Regions from separate parts of the Homo sapiens genome. Here all the other regions are linked to region 6. Evidence: promoter capture Hi-C in 16 types of primary human blood cells and fetal thymus (Javierre and others, 2016). All regions are on one chromosome and are shown on one strand. The core of a region is centred on a gene start or on the middle of the fragment in contact, and the rest is flanking DNA. Distances in the headings are between cores, read along the strand shown.

What was found. The method cuts DNA at HindIII sites, captures the fragments that hold promoters and counts their contacts. A CHiCAGO score of 5 or more calls a contact.
Region 1: a contact is called between a fragment that was not itself captured here and the fragment with the promoter of IYD in region 6, in 1 of 17 cell types (total B cells). The highest score is 6.5, in total B cells.
Region 2: a contact is called between a fragment that was not itself captured here and the fragment with the promoter of IYD in region 6, in 1 of 17 cell types (naive B cells). The highest score is 5.1, in naive B cells.
Region 3: a contact is called between a fragment that was not itself captured here and the fragment with the promoter of IYD in region 6, in 4 of 17 cell types (naive B cells, total B cells, naive CD8 T cells and 1 more). The highest score is 5.9, in naive B cells.
Region 4: a contact is called between the fragment with the promoter of RAET1L here and the fragment with the promoter of IYD in region 6, in 3 of 17 cell types (M2 macrophages, M0 macrophages and naive B cells). The highest score is 6.6, in M2 macrophages.
Region 5: a fragment that was not itself captured here is called in contact with the fragment with the promoter of IYD in region 6 in 8 of 17 cell types (naive B cells, total B cells, M1 macrophages and 5 more); the score reaches 10.6 in naive B cells.
Region 7: a fragment that was not itself captured here is called in contact with the fragment with the promoter of IYD in region 6 in 1 of 17 cell types (erythroblasts); the score reaches 5.4 in erythroblasts.

What each region holds. Positions count from the first base shown.
Region 1 is chr6:150,786,495-150,789,636 of GRCh38, reverse strand. The region is part of intron 5 of PLEKHG1 (pleckstrin homology and RhoGEF domain containing G1); the gene reads right to left. Among named protein-coding and RNA genes, the nearest start is that of MTHFD1L, 78 kb to the left of the region's middle. The HindIII fragment of the contact is 160 bases long and covers 1,616-1,775 here.
Region 2 is chr6:150,752,972-150,755,920 of GRCh38, reverse strand. All of the region lies in intron 3 of PLEKHG1 (pleckstrin homology and RhoGEF domain containing G1), which reads right to left. Among named protein-coding and RNA genes, the nearest start is that of MTHFD1L, 110 kb to the left of the region's middle. RefSeq lists an enhancer at 2,359-2,860. The HindIII fragment of the contact is 5,969 bases long and covers 1-2,949 here.
Region 3 is chr6:150,814,075-150,817,156 of GRCh38, reverse strand. All of the region lies in intron 11 of PLEKHG1 (pleckstrin homology and RhoGEF domain containing G1), which reads right to left. Among named protein-coding and RNA genes, the nearest start is that of MTHFD1L, 50 kb to the left of the region's middle. The HindIII fragment of the contact is 3,010 bases long and covers 130-3,082 here.
Region 4 is chr6:150,023,929-150,027,094 of GRCh38, reverse strand. RAET1L (retinoic acid early transcript 1L) reads left to right here and starts at 1,563. Exons shown (of 5, transcript NM_130900.3): 1 at 1,563-1,708. The coding sequence starts at 1,624. The HindIII fragment of the contact is 10,027 bases long and covers 1-3,166 here.
Region 5 is chr6:150,832,583-150,835,603 of GRCh38, reverse strand. All of the region lies in intron 16 of PLEKHG1 (pleckstrin homology and RhoGEF domain containing G1), which reads right to left. Among named protein-coding and RNA genes, the nearest start is that of MTHFD1L, 32 kb to the left of the region's middle. The HindIII fragment of the contact is 3,331 bases long and covers 1-3,021 here.
Region 6 is chr6:150,367,642-150,370,512 of GRCh38, reverse strand. IYD (iodotyrosine deiodinase) reads right to left here and starts at 1,501. Exons shown (of 5, transcript NM_203395.3): 1 at 1,304-1,501. The coding sequence starts at 1,481. The HindIII fragment of the contact is 5,505 bases long and covers 476-2,871 here.
Region 7 is chr6:150,054,450-150,057,289 of GRCh38, reverse strand. No RefSeq gene overlaps it. Among named protein-coding and RNA genes, the nearest start is that of ULBP3, 13 kb to the left of the region's middle. The HindIII fragment of the contact is 7,426 bases long and covers 1-2,840 here.

The DNA.
Region 1 (3,142 bases), core at 446-2,945, 420 kb before region 6:
AAAACAATGGTTTCAATGAAATTAGGTTGACATTGCATAATATAGTGACTTACTCCTAGCCAGCTATCATAAGACCTCATGACTTCTGCACGATTGAATTTCTGTGCATTTTGTGATATCATGGCTCTATTCCTATTTTAAATTGGAGGGCTGTGATTTAAATCAGTTATATATCTTTAACTGGAATTAAATGCAAGTTTGCCCTTAGGTTTGTGAAGCTCTGTGGACCTTACAAATGATGGTTTCACATAAAAGTCAACAGCTCCTAGTTAGATACCATTAGTTATTAAATATGCCACCCCAAATCGGCTTAGAAGGATTTAAGGGAATGTGTTATACAAATATATATAAATCATAAGAAAAGATATTTCCTTCTAGTTCTTCAAATCTTTCAAATTGTAATCAGAGATGACATAGAAATGAGACATTTAATTATGAAAGAGCCAAAATATGATATAATCAGTGCTGACCAATCAAGCACCTAAGTCTCTCAAATATTTATTGAATAGGTAGCCACAGTAAAGCAATATGTATGATTTTAGGGTTTCTTCTGCCCCAGGGTCCTCCTCTCCCTCTCTGATTCCTGAGAAGTTTTCACTGGACACTACAAGAAAGACTTAATATGTAAACAGCATACGGGTAACTTTGACTTAAATTCACTCTAATCATATGACTATCCAATATCCACACTTCCTTGAGGATAATTTCAGTAAGTGGGTGGTACATGTGCATGCTTGTGTGTGTGCATGTGTGTGTGTGTATGCGTGTGTGTGTGCACACACACTCACTCCCTGGGCTCTAAAAGGAAGAAGGCACCAACAGAGAGAGAGCCACACAACGAGGGAGAGTAGGCAGCTAAGGGGAGGTTGAGGCTCTAAAGACAGACTTTGTCTCCCTCCTAAACGTTGCCCTGGGTCAGCCTTGCTGCCAGTCAAGATGAGAGGTGGATGTGAAGGTGGAGGTAAAGGCAGCAAAGTGAGCCATTCTAGGTGTTTCCAGAGACCTAAAACAGACAAATGTTTACTGGGAGAAGGTTTGGCCTGCCCAGCACGAAACTTTAATTTCTGTCCTTCAGGAGAACTGTGGGTTCATTCTTCCATGAGCATCAGGTAAAAAGCAACCATGTTCTCCATCTGTCGATAAGGACTTCTGTAACCTACACATACCACGACAGTAAGCAAGGTCAAAGATGAATCTCTGTGCAGGCCCCAGTGGTTCAGATAAAAGCAGAAGTCAACTGTCAGCTTCACCTCTTTCATTAACGGCCTCCCAATTAAAGCAATTTTCCATTCCTCCCTAGAGTTGAACAGCTGGTTGTGTTTCAGAAGACGTAACATCTTCTAAATGTCAGGCTGCTGAGTGAAAGGCAGGCAGTGCCTGAGCCCAGCACTCCCTCAGGATTCCCTGTTTCCATGCGAAAGTGCAGAGAGCTCAAGTCAGTCTTCTAATTAAACTTGGCAATATTACAATGAAAAGGAAGATTTGGGAGTTGGCAACGTGGCACATAAACAAACTTTTATGTGAATAATTAAGCGAGAGCTAAGCATACGCTGGAACATCTTTAATCAACTTGTGATTACAGTTACCAGTAAAAGCCCAAACGTTTCCGAAAGCTTCTACGTTGTTTATGTGCTGTGGTTATTCTAACATATCTCCTTTGATATACCCAGCATATCTTTTTAGCCATTTTGCCTTCTTTCATTTTTCTTCTTTTTTTCAAATCCCTGCTCAATTTTGACACAGGCAACTTGTGAAAAGGATTGTATGTGTAAGCTTACACACAGGTAAACGTGTGTGCACACTTTACATGTGAACACACACACACAAAGTCAGGAGAGCCCATGGATTGTGCCTTTACATATAAGCCCATGGATTGTGCCTTTAAGGAACTTTGCTCCAATAAAACCCAGGGTGTTGTGTTTGGAAGCCATCAGGATGCATCTGCCACCATCAGAAATGACCCTGTGGAACAGTCCAGAGCCAGGTCAGACTGGAGCGACATCTCCCAGTTCACACCGGACTCCGCGTGTGCTAATTCCCAGTGGGTCTCAAAGCGCCATCATGAACTTTTATTAAACCTTCGTGCATTTCAAACTACAAATGCAGAAACCACATGAAAGTTTGCTGCAAAACAATTTCTGCTAAAGGCTTTCCAAACAAAAGCGGTTGAATGTTTAAGAGAATTTAAACAAGACAGAAATCTCTATATACTAGGCAGCATGCTGAGAAAGCAATGTAGGAAAGGCCACATTGTAGGAAAGGGTAGGTTTCAGAATTCCATCACCTATTCCACTTCGGAGCACGAGCTCACTGTCATTTAAGCTTTGAAAGTCAAATCCTTTCCTTGTATTTTTCGAAACCACTGATGCAGCTTAAGAAAACAGTGGAAGAGTACATTTTTAAAATGTAGGAGATTAATTCTGCTTCTCTCTATCCCTCAAAAGAAAGATAATTATAGAGACTAGGCTAGTGCCACATATATTATACGTAAAATATTTAGATTCTCTTGGACTTTCACTAAAACTAAACTTTCACTAAACTAAACCAGTTCAGTGGTATTTTATATTTTTCTAACATTCATCTTCTTTTTTTTTTTTTTTTTTTTTGAGACAGAGTCTCACTCTTGTCACCCAGGCTGGAGTGCAATGGCGTTATCTTGGCTCCCACTGCAACCTCCGCCTCCTGGGCTCAAGTGATTCTCCTGCCTCAGCCACCCTAGTAGCTGGGATTACAGGCACACCACCACGCCTGGCTAATTTTTGTGTTTTTAGTAGAGACGGGGTTTCACCATGTTGGCCAGGCTGGTCTCAAACTCCTGACCTCAGATGATCCACTCACCTCGGCTTCCCAAAGTGCTGGGATTATAGGTGTGAGCCACCATGCCCGGCCCATTTTTCTAACATTCTTCTACTCCGGACTCTCCCCTCCCAAGCTTTAAGTTTTTCCCAGCAAAGAGTAACATTATTCAGTTACTGTACAAGTTCTAGAACAACTACTAGATTAGCATCTCCCTGGCTCCAGGAACAATACATTTTTGCTACTCAAACAAAGAAACCAGAGAAAGATTAGTGGCTAACTCTATCTGATATGAAACAAACCAGTCATTTTAACTTTAAAATGAAAAATTCTGTACTCTGTATCT
Region 2 (2,949 bases), core at 49-2,548, 390 kb before region 6:
TGGAAAAAAATAAATTTTTTTAAATTAAAAATTAAATCTTTAATAAAAACATTAAATTTACTGTCCTGGGAAAGTAAATTTGCTTTCCCAGGACGGATTTATCTGAGGACAGGGTAAGGCACTGCCGGATGCAACATGAAGGCCTCAGCCGCAGGGCTGGCTCCCGATGTAGCGAGGTGGGAAACACATCGGCCTCAAGGTCAGGCAGTCTGGGTCTAGGACTCAGGCCCTGGGCGAGTTACTTCCTTGCTGAGGCTCCGTAGCTTCAGCGTGAAGCAGAAAGAATACAACCACCAGTGTCTCCTCATCATTCCAGGGGTTAAACTGCACACATGGTCCATTCAAGGCAGCTCAGCACACATGTGCAGGTGTTGGTGCCTGCTGTGTGGCCGTCTAGGTCCCAGGTTCCTTCCCAGAGCAGCAAGGTAGGTCAGATTGGAGCCTTTTTGGGTTCAAAAGTAAATGAACTCTATATGCTGATAAATCATAATAAAGAATTATCCCCCCACCATTCTCTGCCACTGGCAATACCAGTGCCGTAGGAAGGCTAATTTACTTAAGCAGCTTATTACTAACCATCAACGTTGGCAGAGAGTCTGAAGATTATTGTCAGGGGAGACCTGTGCATAAAAAGTCCTGGATGCCGGCCAGGCGCGGTGGCTCATGCCTATAGTCCTAGCACTTTGGGAGGCCTAGGCGGAAGGATTGTTTGAGGCCAGGAGTTCAAAGCCAGTCTGGGCAACAAAGTGAGACCTGTCTCCACAAAAAAATTAAAAAACTAGCCAGGCGTGGTGCCATGTATCTGTAGTCCCAGCTACTTGGGAAACTAGGGCGGGAGGGTTGCTTGAGCCCAGGAGATCAAGGCTGCAGCGAGGTATGATCACGCCACAGGACTACAGCCTGGGTAACAGAGCGAGATCCTATCTCAAAAAAACAAAAAGTCCTGATGCCGGCCAGGCACAGTGGCTCATGCCTGTAATCTCAGCACTTTGGGAGGCCAAGGCAGGTGGATCACCTGAGGTCGGGAGTTTGAGACTAGCCCGACCAGCACAGAGAAATCCTGTCTCTACTAATAATACAAAAAATTAGCCGGGTGTGGTGGTGCATGCCTGTAATCCCAGCTACATTGGAGGCTGAGGCAGGAGAACTGCTTGAACCCTGGAGGCAGAGGTTGCGGTGAGCCAAGATTGTGCCATTGCCCTCCAGCCTGGGCAATGACAGTGAAACTCGATCTCAAAAAAAAAAAAAAAAGAAAGAAAGTCCTAATGCCATCTAAAAGTTTCCAAGACCCTTGCCCTCTTGCTGTGACCACCCAAACAACAAATCCCGCCTCTCCTCTCCCACCTATATCTTTTTTGAAACTGACTTGTCCTCTCTCTCATCGCTGCCTTGACCTTGTTCTCATCTCTCACCTGGACTACTGCAAGGACATCCTAACCCAGCTCTCTACTGTGGGTCTGATTCCCCACAACTTTTCAAACCTATCTAACATGATTTTCTAAAACGCAAATTTGATGTCATGCCTCCTGGGTAAAATCCTTCAAGGACTCTTAAATCCCTCCCGACCTTCCTGGGCTCATCTTTGACCACTGTCTTGCTCCCCCTCAACTCCCTCACCTCTACCAACACAGGCACTCACTCACTGCTCTTTCAGGAATGTCCCTGTTCCCTGCCCTCTCATGTCGTTTTATTATTGTCTATTCTTTTCTCACTGCCAGTATTGGCTGTCCTGCTCATCACCACCTGGCTCATTCATCCTTCAAGATTCTTCCCAGGAATCCTCCTCTGACCCTTCCTGTCCCCTGTCTGGGTCAGGTATTCTAAGTCTTTAAGCACAGGGTCATCATCATGTAGTGCTATAAAAATATCTTTGTCATTCCTTCTCTCCCTGAAACTGGTATCAACAGTTAGTAGGCACTGTGCTTTAGTGTTCCCAGCACCTAATGAGTGTAGACTCTGCAACCTCATGGAGTGAATTCCCAGAAATGAGCAATGTGCAGAGCACAGGAAGGCAAGGGTTAACGGTGCCCCCGCTGCTCCCTCTCTAGCTAAGAGGCGAGGGCTGTACAGAATCTTGACCCAGCCCAACATTCCTCCCTTGCTCCCAGCCTTTGTCGCAGGGGCAGCATTTTTTTACAACACCACCTCTTGAAGATGACAAAGGTCCCTAAACTATGCATTTCGTTTTTAACTCTCTTCCCACCCACCTCACTCCCGCTTTGCACAAGAAACGCTTCTCTAATCAAAAGTAGATTAACTCTCACCCTTTTCTCTCTGTGCATTTGCATTTGGAACAGCATTTACGAGGCCATAAACAGACCCCTGGGTTGAGTAATTTATCCACTGCTTTATGGAAAATCAGACAAAAGCAGCAGTCTTTTCAGCAGTTGTGTATTTATGGTCGGCAGCTGCTGGGCGGCCAGCTCGGCAGGTCCCCTCCTTACGAGGCACCCACTTCGGGCTTTCTGAAAGGTTAAGGGCATCACCGTAAGCCCCATTATGAAACTGAAGGGACACTTGTAACATTTCTTGTGGATCCAAAGAGATAAAGGCTTTTTTCAAAAGAAAATATTTTAAAGTATAAAGGGATGGCTCCCCCTGCCTCTCCCAACACACACACACCCACCCCACAATGTCCTTCAGGGGTGATTCTGCCCCAGCGAGATCCTGCCATTTGAAACAGCAGACTCTCTCCATTTTTAAAGTGGTCTACTTTACGGGGGTGGGGGTGAGGGGTGTTGGTCATTAGGAATTAATTTATATTAGTTTAACAAAACAAAGAATCTTTCATAAAAATTTTATTTTTTTGAGACAGGCTCTGGCTCTGTTGCCCAGGCTAAAGTGCAGTGACATAATCACAGCTCACTGCAGCCTCCACCTCCCGGGCTCAAGCCATCCTCCCACCTCAGCCTCCCAAGTAGCTTGGACTACAGGAAGGCACCATCATGC
Region 3 (3,082 bases), core at 385-2,884, 450 kb before region 6:
TGGTGAGTTCCACCCACTCTCCTAGGGCAGGGGTCCCCAACCCCCGAGCCACAGACTAGTACTAGTTCGTAGCCTGTTAGGAACTGGGCCGCACAGCAGGAGGTGAGTGGTGGGCAAGCGAGAGAAGCTTCGTCTGGATTTACAGTGGCTCCTCATGGCTCGCATTACAGCCTGAGCTCTGCCTCCTATCAGATCAGTGGCAGCATTAGATACTCATAGGAGTGTGAACCCTACTGTGAATTATGCATGCGAGGGATCTAGGTTGCAGCACTCCTTGTGAGAATCTAATGCCTGATGATCTGAAGTGGAGCTGAGGCAGTGATGCTAGCACTGAGGAGCAGATTAACGTTAGCAGAGAGGTTTGACTGCACAGAGACCATAATAAATCAATTGCTTGCAGATTCATATCAAAACCCTGTCAGTGAGTGTCAAGGAGCAATTAAGCTGCATCTGGTGGCAGGCTTTATCGTGGCAAGTGAGTTGATGTACTTCAATTGTACAGCTGCATCTGGTGGCCTTAAAAGTATGTTTGAGGCCGGGCGTGGTATCTCACGCCTATGATCTCAGCACTTTGAGAGGCTGAGGCGGGCAGATCACGAGGTCAGGAGTTCAAGACCAGCCTGACCAACACGGTGAAACCGTCTCTACTAAAAATACAAAAATTAGCTGTGCGTGGTGGTGTGTGCCTGACATCCCAGCTACTCAGGAGGCTGAGGCAGGAGAATTGCTTGAACCTGGGAAGGCAGAGGTTGCAGCACCACTGCACTCCAGCCTAGGCAACAGAATGAGACTCCATCTCAAAAAAAAAAAAAAAAAAAAAAAAAAAAAAAGTATGTTTGAGACAACTTCAAACCTCCTTACATTCTGGATTAAAGTCCAGGCGAATATCCTGAGATTGCCACAAAAGCACAAAAGCCTGCTTCCATTTCCAACATCCTATCTTTGTGAAGCAGGGTTTTCTGCAGTGACAGTGACCAAAATAAGATGAGAGCAGACTGGACATAAGCAACACACTTGGGGTGTCGCTGTCTCCCATCACCCCCAGATGGGACTGTCTAGTTGCTCAGGGCTAGAACAAGCTCAGGGCTCCCACTGATTCCACATTATGGTGAGCTGTAGAACGATTTCATTATATATTACCATGTAGTAATAGAAATAAAGTGCACAATAAACGTAATGTGCTTTCATCATCCCAAAAGCCTCCCCCTGCCTCCATCCGTGGAAAAATTATCTTCCACAAAACCAATCCCTGGTGCCCAAAAGGTTGAAGACCACTGTCCTAGGGGATTGTAGCCTTTCTTGCCTCTTTAAAGTTATTTTCATTTTTTAAGGGTAGTATAATTTAACCTACAAAACACTATGCTAAAAATAACTTTTAAAATAATTTTACTCTATTTTGCTACCATCTGTGATATCCCAGTACAAATATTTCGGCTAAGTGGCGATCACGTTTAGTGAAAAAGTGTGGGGCTTGGGGGAGCCTCAACACAGTCACCTTAGAGAAAACAAATGCTTCAATTTTTGTAACCTGATAGCTATCTCTCTCATACATTCAGAGTTTGAGATTATGAGTTGAAATTACTTGCAAACACAAATGTTAGCTCAGTCTCTCTCTGGGAAGTGCAATTACAGAAACATACTAATATATAAAATGCAAAATACCTTCACCTTTATTTTCAATTAATTTGGAGAAGAGTTAAATTTATTTACCACATATACTAATGGGCAATATGGCTATTTCCAAGAAGTTCCCTGGTATCTGTAAAGCTGACTTCAAGAATTTTTTTTTGTCTGGACATTTAATTTTTAAAGTACTGTTTCCAGGATTTCCACTAGGTGTCAGCCAAGGACCATCATTGAATTAAAAGAACGGAAGGCAGCTGGGAGGCTGTAACTAATGAGTTTCCCACAGCTGTGTTGACATTATTAGACTGGTGATACATTTCTTGATGTTTAAAATTTCCCACTATGCATTCATTTCACAGAAATAATAGAAATACATTTTGAAAACTTTAGGAAAATAAGAAATAATCTCGAGGAAAGATGTGGAAAGTTCACTTTAATGATAATCCTGCTTAAATAGAAAATTATGATTACATTATAGTGAATAAAGTATATTAGACAAGCGTGTTTGAGGCTGGGTGTGGTGGCTTGTGCCTGTAATCCTAGCACTTTGGGAGAGGCTGAGGCAGGTGGATCACTTGAGGCCGGGAGTTCGAGACCAGCCTGGCCAACATGGTGAAACCTCATCTCTACTAAAAATACAAAAATTAGCCAGGTGTGGTGGTGTGCGCCTGTAGTCCCAGCTACTCGGGTGGCTGAGGCACAAGAATACTTGAACCCAGAAGGTGGAGGTGGCAGTGTGCTTTTTCTTGTATGGAGATTGCACCACTGCACTCCAGCCTGGGTGACAGAGTGAGACGCTGTTTCAAAACAAAACAAAACAAAAAAAGGTGTTTTTATTGCCAGTGGGAATAATGTGGTTAGGATGCTCTTTGGAGCCAGATAGACCAATCCAGGCTTGGTCATGTACTAGTTATATAAACTTGGGCAGTTTATTTAATGTCTCTCAGCCTCTGTTTTTATTTTTTCTAGAATGGGAAGAATAAGAACTACCTCATAACATATTTTGGTGAGGGTGAAATAAGAATATAAAGTACTCAGCACAGTGTGTATGCTCAATAAGTTGTAACTGAAAAGATGTTTTTAGATAGAAAGGATCGACAACTTGGGGAGAAAGTACGATGTTATATTGACTATATTAACCATTTGAATACTTAAAGGGAACTTCCTGAGGCACACACGCCTAGCGTGGGAGAAAGACAGGTATGTAAGGGGGTCTCATTTTGTAACTGCCTTTCAGAATCTTGTTAGCAATTTTGATTTTCCCAGCAGACAGGTAAACAATGGGTGGGGCCCATCAAAGATACTCTGCCATTGCTCAGAAGGGCATTCTAAGGCACCAGGCCAGCAACAAAATGACTAATCATAAAGAAAATGCAGTCCCCTCTCTGCATGAGCTCCCTTTCATCTCATAACACCCTGACGAAATGAAAACTCATGCTTAGGTCCAAGTCCACAC
Region 4 (3,166 bases), core at 314-2,813, 340 kb after region 6:
TGGCCACGGATTGGTGTGCTGGAAAGTGAACCCCACACGTGTGTAGACTCCTCCCTCGGCTCCTGCTCTTCGTGGAAACACAATTGATTACATGATTGAGCAAGTTGTTCACTAGGTCTTTTTAGGAAGGGATGTAGTATATTCTCAAAGACCTCATGCTTCTAGCAGAGAGGCAAAGAAATGTGTGAGCAATTGTCACACAGGGAGATCTGGATGCACCCACTGTGAACCCAGGTCTCAGGGAGCAGGAGGGTGTTCTGTATTGTGGGAACATGCAGGACACACATGGGAGGGGGTATTTGTGCCCGGCTTTGAAGGATGGCTGGCTCTTTGCCCAGGGGGAAGAGGCCAGCAGAATGCGCTGACAGTTGGGAACCACTAGGAACTTTCAGTTGAACCTGCTCTGCTGAGCCCCCTGTGCCATCGGTGGACCTGGGCCAGGGCGGCTGCTGAACTGGGAGCTCAGAGGTAATCTCTCTGAGGAGCTTTCTAAATCAGCAAGCGTGTCACAGGTTGAGATTCTAGGGATGAGGTCCTCAATGCTGTCCTCGATTTTAATGAGCAGCCTTTTGGCCAGTCTGCACTGGGTGAAGCAGAAGCAAGACATAAATTGTTAAGATAATTTTTAAAGCTGCTTAATTTTGGTAAAAACATAGAACATAGAATTTACCATCTTCACCAATTGTTTACTATACAATATGTTGTTTTGAACCTCTGAAACCCTACCTGCTGTTTCTGTAATAAAACCTAGCCCAGGCCGGGCACGCTGACTCATGCCTGTAATCCCAGCACTTTGGGAGGCCGAGGTGGGTGGATCACCTGAGGAAAGGAGTTTGAGACCAGCCTGGCCAACAAGGTGAAACCCCATCTCTACCAAAACTACAAACAATTCGCCGGGCTTGGTGGTGGGCACCCGTAATCCCAGCTACTCCAGAAGCTGAGGCAAGAGAATCGCTTGAACCCAGGAGACAAGGCTGCGGCGAGCCGACATCGGGCCGTTGCACTCCAGCCTGTGCAATAAGAGAGAAACCCCATCTCCAAATACATAAATAGATAAAGAAATAAAAAATAAAACCCAGCCCGGACTGTAACCACGCCCACCGGGGACTGGGGAAGTAGTGGAGGGGACGCGAACAGGCCCATGGCTGTGCCCAGGGCGGGGTGAGCCAGGGACCCCGCGGCGCAAGCGGAAGGAGGGAGAGTGCCGCGGACCCAGGCGGGGACAAGGAGACGCCGAGGCCGCTGAATATTCCTCTGCACGTTTCTTCACCATTAATAAAAAATGCTATAATGATTAAATGAGTCTGTCGTGGAAGGAATCGTGTCCTGGCAGGAGTGGGGCCCGGGCACGAGGCCACCAAGCTGCCGGAGCGGGTGAAGAAGGGAAGGGACACTAGCATGGAAACTGGATTTCGTCCAGACAATGAAACGAAGAGGTGGAACGCGCCCAGTGACTACGCCCAGTAGCATTAAAATCTGGCTTTTCAGAATCGAGGTGACTCATTCCCCGGTACATTCCCCAGTAACTAACAGTATATAAGCCAGCCTTTCAGCACAGAGGTGATTTCATCTTCCAGGATCCACCTTGATTAAATCTCTTGTCCCCAGCCCTCCTGGTCCCCAATGGCAGCAGCCGCCATCCCAGCTTTGCTTCTGTGCCTCCCGCTTCTGTTCCTGCTGTTCGGCTGGTCCCGGGCTAGGCGAGACGGTGAGCTGGTGGATGGAGCCTAAGCGGGGCGGGGGCCAAACCTGAGGGACTGTGGACTGCAGCGGGTTTCAGAGGAGGGAAGGCTTCTGGAAGGACAAGGGAGATCTCCCCGAACTGCGCCCCCAGCTCAGTTCCCCTCCTGGGCTCCTTCCCGCCGGGTCCACTCCCCAAGGCTGTTCTTGCCCCAGTAGGGGCGAAAAAGAGCAGGGTGAAAACGAGGCTGGCAGGAGGGTGGAGGGGCCAGAGGGCTGCGAGGGCTAGGTGGGGCCCGGATTCCTAGTGCAGCCCGGCAGTCCCACCCGCCTTTCGGAAGGAGAAACCAGAGCCCCCCCGGGAACAGAGCTGGGGTCAGGACTGGGTGAAGGGGGGTACCACAGGGATACAATCACAGACGCCCCCACCAGCCACAAGCCTGCTCTGCTCTCACCTGCTCTCTACCACACAAACCCTCCAGCACCCCCAGGACTCCCTGCCTTTGTTTTCCCCGCACTTTTCCTGTAGACACTCACCTGCACCCAGGGGCTCAGCAGATACCCGCCACCCCTCCCCTCACCATCCACTGCCACCACCCAGGTCACATCCTCTTACTGCCCACCTCAGCCCAGCTGGTCACCCCTGAGGTCTCCCCATCCATGAAGGGTACCTCACCACCTCCTACACCACGTCGCACCTTCTGCCTCTTGCCTGAGGACACACCCCAACAAACACACCCCAAGCTCCCCTCAGAACCTGTGCAGGGGGGATGGGAAGCACCATTTCCTCCAGGATGACCCTGGGAACTCTGGTGAGTAGAGGCACCCACTTCTGCCCTTGGGGCCCAGACCGCCTGTTCTTCCTACGGGGGTGTCAGCGTCATAGAGAATAGTCACTGTGTAGACAGGGGTCAGCAAACCCTTTCTAGAAAGGGAGGAAGGATGCCCTGTGATCTTTGCAGGCCATGGGTTCTCCGTCTCTGTGTCCAGTCCTGTCCCTTTGTAGAGCAACAGCAGGCAATGGCAACCTTCAAAGAGGGGGGACCAGATTTGGACCCTGTCCTAGGTTGCTGATCCCAGATCAGGGGATTACAGTGTCCCAGTGCCCCATCCCCTAGGGTGTCATCTCCAAGTGATGTCTCTGATGTCAGTTGGAAAGTAGAAGGTGGCCCTACCTTGCCTGTGGCTTCTGGGTGGTGTGGATGTGATGGGAGTGGGGGTCCCATAGTTGGGGGCTTATTCTCCCCTCCTTTGTGCTGAGTGGCATCCATGGGGACCATCAGGTACCCTCCCTGAAGCCTCAGGTGTGAGCTGAGGGTGAGTGGGTGCAGCCACGTGGTGTCCTGGGGATCAGGTCCAACTGCTTGTGCAACTTCTTGGTTCCCGGTGGCCCTGCTCCTGCCCATCCCAGAAGAACCACCTGCATCTTCTCACTGCTGGGCCTATCTTCCTAATGACCTAGAGGGCGAGGAGCCCACCAGTAATG
Region 5 (3,021 bases), core at 378-2,877, 460 kb before region 6:
AGTTCTAGTATTAACAGTTGTATAGAATATATACATTATGACTACATGACAATCGCAAGAATGTCTCTGGTTTATTGCCTTTTTTGAGATTTGAAAATTGGAGTTCTTATGATCTCAGACAAAAATTTAGAATAATGTTTGCCAAGGGAAATATCAAACAACATTTTAATCCTCCAGACAGAGGATTAAAATAAATGTTTCTGATGTTGCTCGAGATGCAGACAAAAGCATAAAATTGTGCCTTCCCTACTCTACACAAGGAGGAAAATTTCTCAAGCCTGTATGGAGTTTTCTCCCATGTGAAACATCACCAAAAAACCCAGAAACCCAAAGGCCTCCTTGCTCTCAAAGACTATCAGGAGGAAGGTCTGATGGAACAAGATGGCCAGCATGCTATGACAGGCTCTAAGATATGGGAGCAACTGGACCTGGTTGGGTGATTTATAGGCAGAAATCTGACCCAGGGCCTGGAGACCCCGGCTAGAGAGTTCAATAAAGATGCTCGAGAGTTTCGGCAGGTGAATAAGGTGCTCCTCCTTCCGCACAGCACCGAGAGCAAGCTCCTGGCAAAGCGGCAAGGCCCACACGGAGAAGTCTGGAGAATCGGTCCATTCGATTACGACGTCCTGTGCCCAGATAAACAAGAAAGAGAAAAGGAGTCATCATGTCAACTGACGGAAAGCCTAGTGGGCACAGGAAGTGGTCTCGATCACCCAGCTGGACGAGGTGTGGATATAACTCATCAGGTCCTAGGGACGTGCCTCTGCCAGATGGCAGGGAAGACAGCACTCTCAGAAGATGACTCGGGAGAGATTTCCTCCTCCTTGCTGGGGAGAACGTCGACAGGAGCCCACCATGTCAAGAAAGGACCCAGACGCAAAGCTGAGAAAAGATCCTGGGGCATCCCAAGACAACACCAGCAGGCAAAACAAAAAGGAGAGCCAACCAAAAGTGAAAAGAAAACCCCAATGTGAAATCATTTAATACTTAAAAAGGTGGGTAAAAAAGAAGACTACTCGAGGTAGTCGTAGGCCCTAATGATTCAGTATCAAAGGACATGCTTCTGTCAAGATTGGAGCTTTGTATTTTAACAGATGGTCCATATTCAAAACAACCTGGCCCAGGGAATTACTACTTTTTCAGTGGTAGTCTGTGGGCATAACCCATCATCATCAAAAACTTCAGCATTACATTTCCTCTTATGCTGAGGAGCCCCAACCCAGACTTAGTCAGTGCTTGCAATTGCCAATATACAACTGTTTCTAAGGCCATATATATTCCCCTACCCCACCAAAATTGTCCTCCTGCAGCGGGAACTCAGTCACTTTCCCTGTAACAGCAAACCAGCTTAGCAACGCTAGCATCAGAATAGGGACTTGAATTACTCATAGTGCATCATGGCAAGGAGAAAAATACATGCATTCTAGTCTCACATGCATACAAAACCTTCATTTGATTAAAAAGAAGAACTCAGAGTCTGTGAAATCCTTCAGGCATCAATTCCAGCACTTTGTTTCCCTATCTGTTAAGAAATTGTACTGAAGATTAAAACTTTAGACAATTCTTAAATACTCTCAAACTTAAAAAAAAAAGTTCCCTACAGATTCTTGTTATGTAACTTGTGCATTCATTTAAGATTTGGATATGCCCTTCCTATTCTTCAGTTTCCATGGATGTCAATGTCAATCCCAAAGACAGCATTTAATAGTTAGTGGCATCAACCTGTCCCAATGTGCTGATAATGAAGCTAATGATCAGAGCCTGTCCTGATACTAAGCCATCACCCAGCTTTCACTTTTAATTGTAGAATAGACTCCTCTCATTTGATACTAAGGTGGTCCTTGGTTAGAAAATCTGGGGCAGGATTTCTTAAAATATGATGAAAAGGGCATACTATTTGAAAGGCATATTCCTGAGCCTATAGCCAGAAATCTCTCTGTGCCTGGAGGTAAAAGCTCCTCAGGCAAGAGCCACTACCTTTGGACTTTTCTTTCTATGACAATCAGGGGCTTTATTCACAGCTAGGCTCTTCCCCAGAGATCAGTGTTAAATTTTGGCCTTCAAAAAAAGTCTAACCATGAGCATCTCATTCCCATAGTCCTGATCCTACAATATCACACCTAAGATTCTGGTTTGGTTGTGCTCCACAAAGGAGTCTAACTAAAGCATTAAACTCAGAAGCATATATGAAAATACTAAATGAGATAGTGTTGAATGCATTACAGCAGCTATTTTAAAAAATTGAGCAGTAGGCCAGGTGTGGCGGCTCACGCCTGTAATCCTAGCACTTTGGGAGGCCAAGGTGGGAGAGTCACTTGAGCCCAGGAGTTTGAGAGCAGCCTGGGCAACACGGTAAAATCCCATCTCTACAAAAAAACCACACACACAAAAAAATTAGCGGGGCGTGGTGGTACACACCTGTAGTCCCAGCTACTAGAGAGGCTGAGGTGGGAGGATCACCTGAGCCCAGGAGGCAGAGGCTGCAGTAAGCCATGTTCATGCTACTGCACTCCTGCCTGGGTGACAGAGCCAGACCCTATCTCAAAAAAAAAAAAAAAAATTGAGTAGTAATGGAGATATGTGAGAAAACCATTGATTTATAGTGCGAGCAACTAAGGAAAGTACAATGGCTGGCGTGGTGGCTCACACCTGTAATCCCAGCCCTTTGGGAGGCTGAGGCAAGAGGATTGCTTGAGCCCAGGAGTCGAGACCAGCCTGGGCAACATGGTGAAACCCCTTCTCTACAAAAAATGTAAAAAGTAGCTGGGCATGGTGGTTAGTGCCTCTGGTCCCACCTCAGGAGGCTGAGGTGGGAGGACTGCTTGAGCCTGGGGAGGCTGAGGCTGCAGTGAGCTGTGATTGTGTCACTGTACTCCAGCCTGGGTGACAGTGAGATCCTGTCTCAAAAAAAAAAAAAAAAAAGTATGCAAAAAAACCCCTCTTTTTGTTAGCACGAGTTGGCATTTTTGTTGAGATCCTGAAGCCAGAAACAATGTTATTCTATATGCTTCCAAACCTCAG
Region 6 (2,871 bases), core at 252-2,751:
TGTTAGCACTGAGAGCCAGCTGGACACCCTGCGCCCCGGTCCTGAGATTAGGACACACACTCATGCACACACTCTCTCACAAACACACTCATGCGCACGCACACACACATTCATGCATGCACACACAAACTCATGCATGCTCACACACACTCATGCACACACGTGCACACTCACACGCACACTCACCCACTCGTGCACACACACTCATGCACACACACTCACACATGCACATTAATGAACACTCACATGCACGCGCACACACATCCACTCTCATGCACACACACACACGCACGCGCACACACACATGCACATTCATAAACACACACTCTCACACACATACACTCACACACACTCACATGTCCAGGTGGCCTCTGTTTGGGGATGGGGGCATCATTAGCCCAGCTGAAGATCACAGAGCCTCTTCCAAATCGAACCCATCCCAGACAAAGCTTCTCAAACACAGATGGCTCAAGCTTCCTCCACGCTCTCTCCCTTCCTACCTGCCTCCTTCATCACCTCTTCTTCTCAAGGTGGCCATAACCTTCCCGCCCTCAATTCTCTACTTCCATTCTTACCCTCTCCCTCCACCCTCAATTCTCCACTTCCTCTCTTACCCCTGCCCCAGGCCTCCAGGTGCTTCTGCTCCTTTGGCTCCTTGTTGCCTGACAGGCCTCCCAGCACTTGCTATTTGTACCCTATTCATCCTCCCAGCCTGGTTTGTCCTTTCCCTGACTGCACCGTCAAACTCCCAGGCCTACTCTAAACACCTTAGAATCAGTTCCACCGGGTCTGTCTCTTTGTTACTCTCTCTGATTCTAGTGTATCATCTTGGCAGCTGAACTGGACATTCAGTTTGTTGAGGACAGAGGCCATCCCAGGCTTTCACTTCCAGGGCCTGGCACAGGGAAAGGTAGCAGCCTCCTAGGTGATGCCACTTGGTAGATTTCAAAGTTCCTGATCAAAACCTGGCCTCTTAGTCCCTGCCCACTGCCAGCCTGGGATGAATTCCTGCAGAAAGATTTTAACAACCAGAACAGAATTGTAGCCAGGGAAAACTTCAGCCTCTCAACAGCTTTTTCACTGGGCATCAAAAATAAAAAAGGGTTGGTCCCAGCAGGTGACAAGCTCATCACTGGAGAGAGATGACCTGTCTGTGCCAAGCACTGATTCATTAGCACAATAGAGGTTGATGTTGAAGCTGGCCTGTGTGTGTTTCTTCCTCTCCATAAGCCCTGCCATTGACTCACACTCATCATCAACACAACACGACAGCGAAGCTAAGCAGCATAGCTGGTGTCTTTACCTTCTTCTGCTTGGTGCAGGTCACTGCTGTCTTTTAAGTCTTCATCCACCCAGGGGCGAGCTTCGGCCCTGGTTCTAGGCTCCCCCTTCTTTTTCTCCATGCTTCTGTCGGCATTTTTAAAGATCCACACAACCAAAATGCAGAGAATGGCTACCAAGATGGGAGTCAGGAAATACATGGTCTGGAGTCTGACGTCACAGGCGTGCACACTTCCCACACCGGTTTTTAAACACACAGAGACAGGAGTGGAGAATGCCGGGAGATAGAAGGAATGCAGACACAGGTGTGCCAGGGAAGGAACAAAGTGCAGAACTCTTCAACTCTGTGAGGACTTTGCAAAGGAGCAAAGATCACAGTCACATGTGTGGGGTGTTGTGGCTTTGGTTATACACCAGTCCATTAACTTTTTAAAAGTATGTACTCTGTCGATATATTCTTAGACAACAATTGCCAGAATCTGAGTAAGAACTTGCATGTGCTAGATCTAGCTAGATCACCTGAAGAACTTGTTTTTGTTTTTGTTTTTTTTAAATAGATTTCCACACACCAACTCAGATCTGCTGGAAGAAAATGTTCAGGAAAGAGGTTTGGCACCATGCATTTTAAATGGCATATTTGTGAAAACAGCCCTAGGGTTTTGATTTTTTTTTTATGATACCTGAGCCAATATATGGAGTAAAGAGAATATCATGTTTTGCATCAGAGAAAAACTTTGATCCAGGAAAAGTGACACAAAAAATTAAAGTGACAACTTGATTATGTAATTACTTCAGTAGGGCTTTTTATGTGTTAGTTTGTCTGTCTGTTTTAGAAAGTGCCTTAGTCAGTTATGGCTGAAATAACAAAAATACTATGGACCGGGTGGCTTAAACAATATAAATTTATTTCTCAGCCAGGTATGGTGGCTCATGCCTATAATCCCGGCACTTTGGGAGGCTGAGAGGGGCAGATCACTTGAGGTCAGGAGTTCGAGACCAGCCTGGCCAACATGATGAAACCCCATCTCTACTAAAAATACAAAAATTAGTTGGGCCTGGTGGTACATGCCTGCAAACACAGCTACTCAGGAGGCTGAGGCAGGAAAATAGCTCCACCCAGGAGGTGGAGGTTGCAGTGAGCCGAAATTGTGCCATTGCACTCCAGCCTGGGCGACAAGAGTGAAAGTTCCTCTAAAAAAAAAAAAAGAAAGAAAGAAGAAGAAGAAGAAAAAGAAAAGAAAAGAAAGAAAGAAAGAAAGAAAGAAAGAAAGAAAGAAAGAAAGAAAGAAAGAAATTTATTTATCATTTATTTATCATAGTTCTGGAGGTTGAGAAGTCCATAATTAAGGTGCTGGCAAATCAGCTCCTGGTGAGGGCTCCCCTCCTGGTTTGCCAACAGGTGCCTTCTTGCTGTAACCTCACACAGTGGATGGTGGAAACAGATCATCTCTATCATCTTTTTTCTTATAAGGCCACTAATCTCATTAATGAGGGCTCCACTCTCATCACCTGTTCACCTCCCAAAGGCCCAACCTCCAAATACCATTGTACTGGGGCTTAGGGCTCCAACACATGAATTTTGCCAAGACA
Region 7 (2,840 bases), core at 195-2,694, 310 kb after region 6:
ATACCAATATTGTTTTTCACAGAATTAAAACAATCTATTCTAAAATTTATTTGGAACCAAAAGGAAAAAAAAAAGTTCAAGCTGTCAAAACAATCCTGAGCAAAAAGGACATGTGGAGCTCGCACGGTTCCAACCCTCAGCCTAAAGTCAAGCCCAGAATAGATCAGCCTAAGCCCAGCCAAACCAAAGGTCCGGGAGAGAAAAGCAAATGCTAACTGTCTGTGACATTGAACTTCAAAGGGGCCTGTCACGTTATGTGGGTCATCCCAGCAACAATGAAGATATTTCTGTATCAGTCAGTCAGTAAATAATTATTGACAATGTGCTAGAAAGGTGGAGTGATTTGAGTAGATTTGCTCCCTATTCTCATAGAGATTACTTTCTAGAGGGGAAGACAGATGATGGATGAATAAATATAAATTATTCTATTACGTTGGTGCAGCAGTAATCTCGGTTTTTGCCATTAAAAGTAATGGCAATAAAAAGCAGGGAGGAGCCGGTGCTGCAGTTCATTAAAAGTAATGGCAAAAACTGTGATGACTTTGCACCAACCTGATAGAATAATTACGAGTGTGCAAAACACTGCAATGGGAAAGTTCCAAGAGCTAGAATCGCATCTAGCTTCCTGGAGTCAGGAGACAGGGGTTGGCAACCTAACCAAGGTTAAGTCCAAGTGATGGGGGCAGGCAGGGAGTGATATTTCAGTGGAGACTCCAAAGATAAATGGTAATTAGAAAAGTGAACCCAGACGATGAGAGAGGGAAGTGTTTCAGGCAGAGAGAATAGCGTGTGCAAAGGCCTATGTGGGGAGGATGTCGTGTGTTCATCGACCTGAGGGGTGCTCTGCAGGCTGGAACTGAGCAGGTTGAGAGGAGGATGGGGAGCCGGGGAAAGGCACCCCACGCAGAGGGCACAGCAGAGGCAGAGGCCCGGAGTCGGGCCTGAGCCTGTGTGGTTTGAAGAACTGACAGAGGCCTTTCTGGCAGGAAAGAGAGCAGGGCCGTGCTGGGCACTGTGGGCTGTGGATGGGAGCTGGCATTTATGCTCGAGTGATGGGAACGTGTTAGAAGATTTTAAGGAGGGCAGTAATATTTGGGGATAATGCGTATTCTGGGAATCTCAACAAACTAAATTCATAGTTTGAATGTTCATAAGACTTCTGCACAGGCAGAGAGAAATAAGATCATTTCTACAGCTGTGACATAAGATCATATTAAAAAATATTACTAAGTTTTTAAAGGTCATTTCAAATGGTGGATTTCTATCTTATATTTGAACACAAGTAGATTGCAAGGTTGGGGAAAGCAGAAAAGTTTCCTGACTTGTGTGAACATAAAAGAAATATCAATCTGAAAGCAAAACATTTATTCATTTACTTCCTCTGCAGTTTTCTTGACTGCTGAATTTCATAAGAAGGGATTGTTCATGAGGGTCATGGAGCTGGGGACCTGGGGAGGAGCTGGTGTTCTCCTAGTTTGAGGGTCGTGGAGCTGAAGACTCAGGGAGGAGCTGGTGCTGCTGTTCTAGTTTGAGTATCATGGAACTGGAGCACCGGGAAAGAACCCACTCATGTATTAGGGTAATAGATCTGGAGATCCGGATGGAGCTGGTGCTGCTGTTCTAGTTTGAGGGTTGAGGAGCTGGAGACCCAGGGAGGAGCTGATGCTACTGCTGTTCAAATCTGAGGGTAATGGAGCTGGAGCCTTGGGGAAGAGTGTTGCTGCCTTTCAGGTCTGAGAGTCATTGAACTGGGGCTCCAGGGAGGAGCTTGTGCTCCCGTTGTAGTTTGAGGGTCATAGAGCTGGAGACCCAGGGAGGAGCTGGTGATGCTGTTTTAGTTTGAGGGTTGTGGAGCTGAAGATCTAGGGAGGAGCTGATGCTGCTGTTCAAGTCTGAGGGTCCTGGAGCTGGAGGCCTGGGGAGGAGCTGGTGCTGTTGTTCTAGTTTGAGGGACATGGAGCTGGAAACCTGGGGAGGAGCCGGTGTTGATCTTCTTTGAGGGTCATGGAGCTGGAGATCCGAGGAGGAGCCGGTGTTGTTCTAGTTTGAGGGTCGTGGAGCCGGAGACCCGGGGAGGAGCTGGTACTGTTGTTCTGGTTTGAGTGTCGTGAAGCTGGAGACCTGGGGAGGAGCCAGTTTCGTTCTAATTTGGGAGTCGTGGAGCTGGAGACCCGGGGAGCAGTCGCTGTTTTTTTAGTTTGAGGGTCGTGAAGCTGCAGACCTAGGGAGGAGCGCTGTTGTTCTAGTTTAAGGATCGTGGAGCTGGAAACTCAGGGAGGAGCCGGTGTTGTTCTAGTTTTCAGGTCGTGGACCTGGAGACCTGGGGATGAGTGGTATTGTTCTTGTTTTAAGGTCATGGAGCTAGAGACCCAAGGAGGAGCCATTGTTTTTTTAGTTTTAGGGTCATGGAGCTGGAGACCCAAGGAGGAGCTGGTGTTGTTCCAGTTATAGAGTCGTGGAGCTGAAGACTCGAGGAGGAGCTTGTGTTGTACTAATTCGAACGTTGTGGAGCTGGAGATCCTGGGAGGAGCTGTGTTGCCCTTGTTTGAGGGTTGTGGAGCTACAGACCCAGGGAGGAGAAGTGTTGTTCTAGTTTGAGGATCATAGAGCTGGAGAACCAGGGAGGACCTGGTGTTGTTCTAGTTTGAGGATTGTGGAGCTGGAGACCTGGGGAGGAGCTGGTGCTGTTGTAGTGTGAGGTGCATGGAGTGGAGACCCAGAAATGAGCATTATTGTTTTAGTTTGAGAGTCATGGAGCTGGAGACCCAAGGAGGAGCTGGTGTTGCTGTTTAAATTTTAGTGTTATGGAACTGGAGAACCGGGGACGAGTTGGTGCTGCT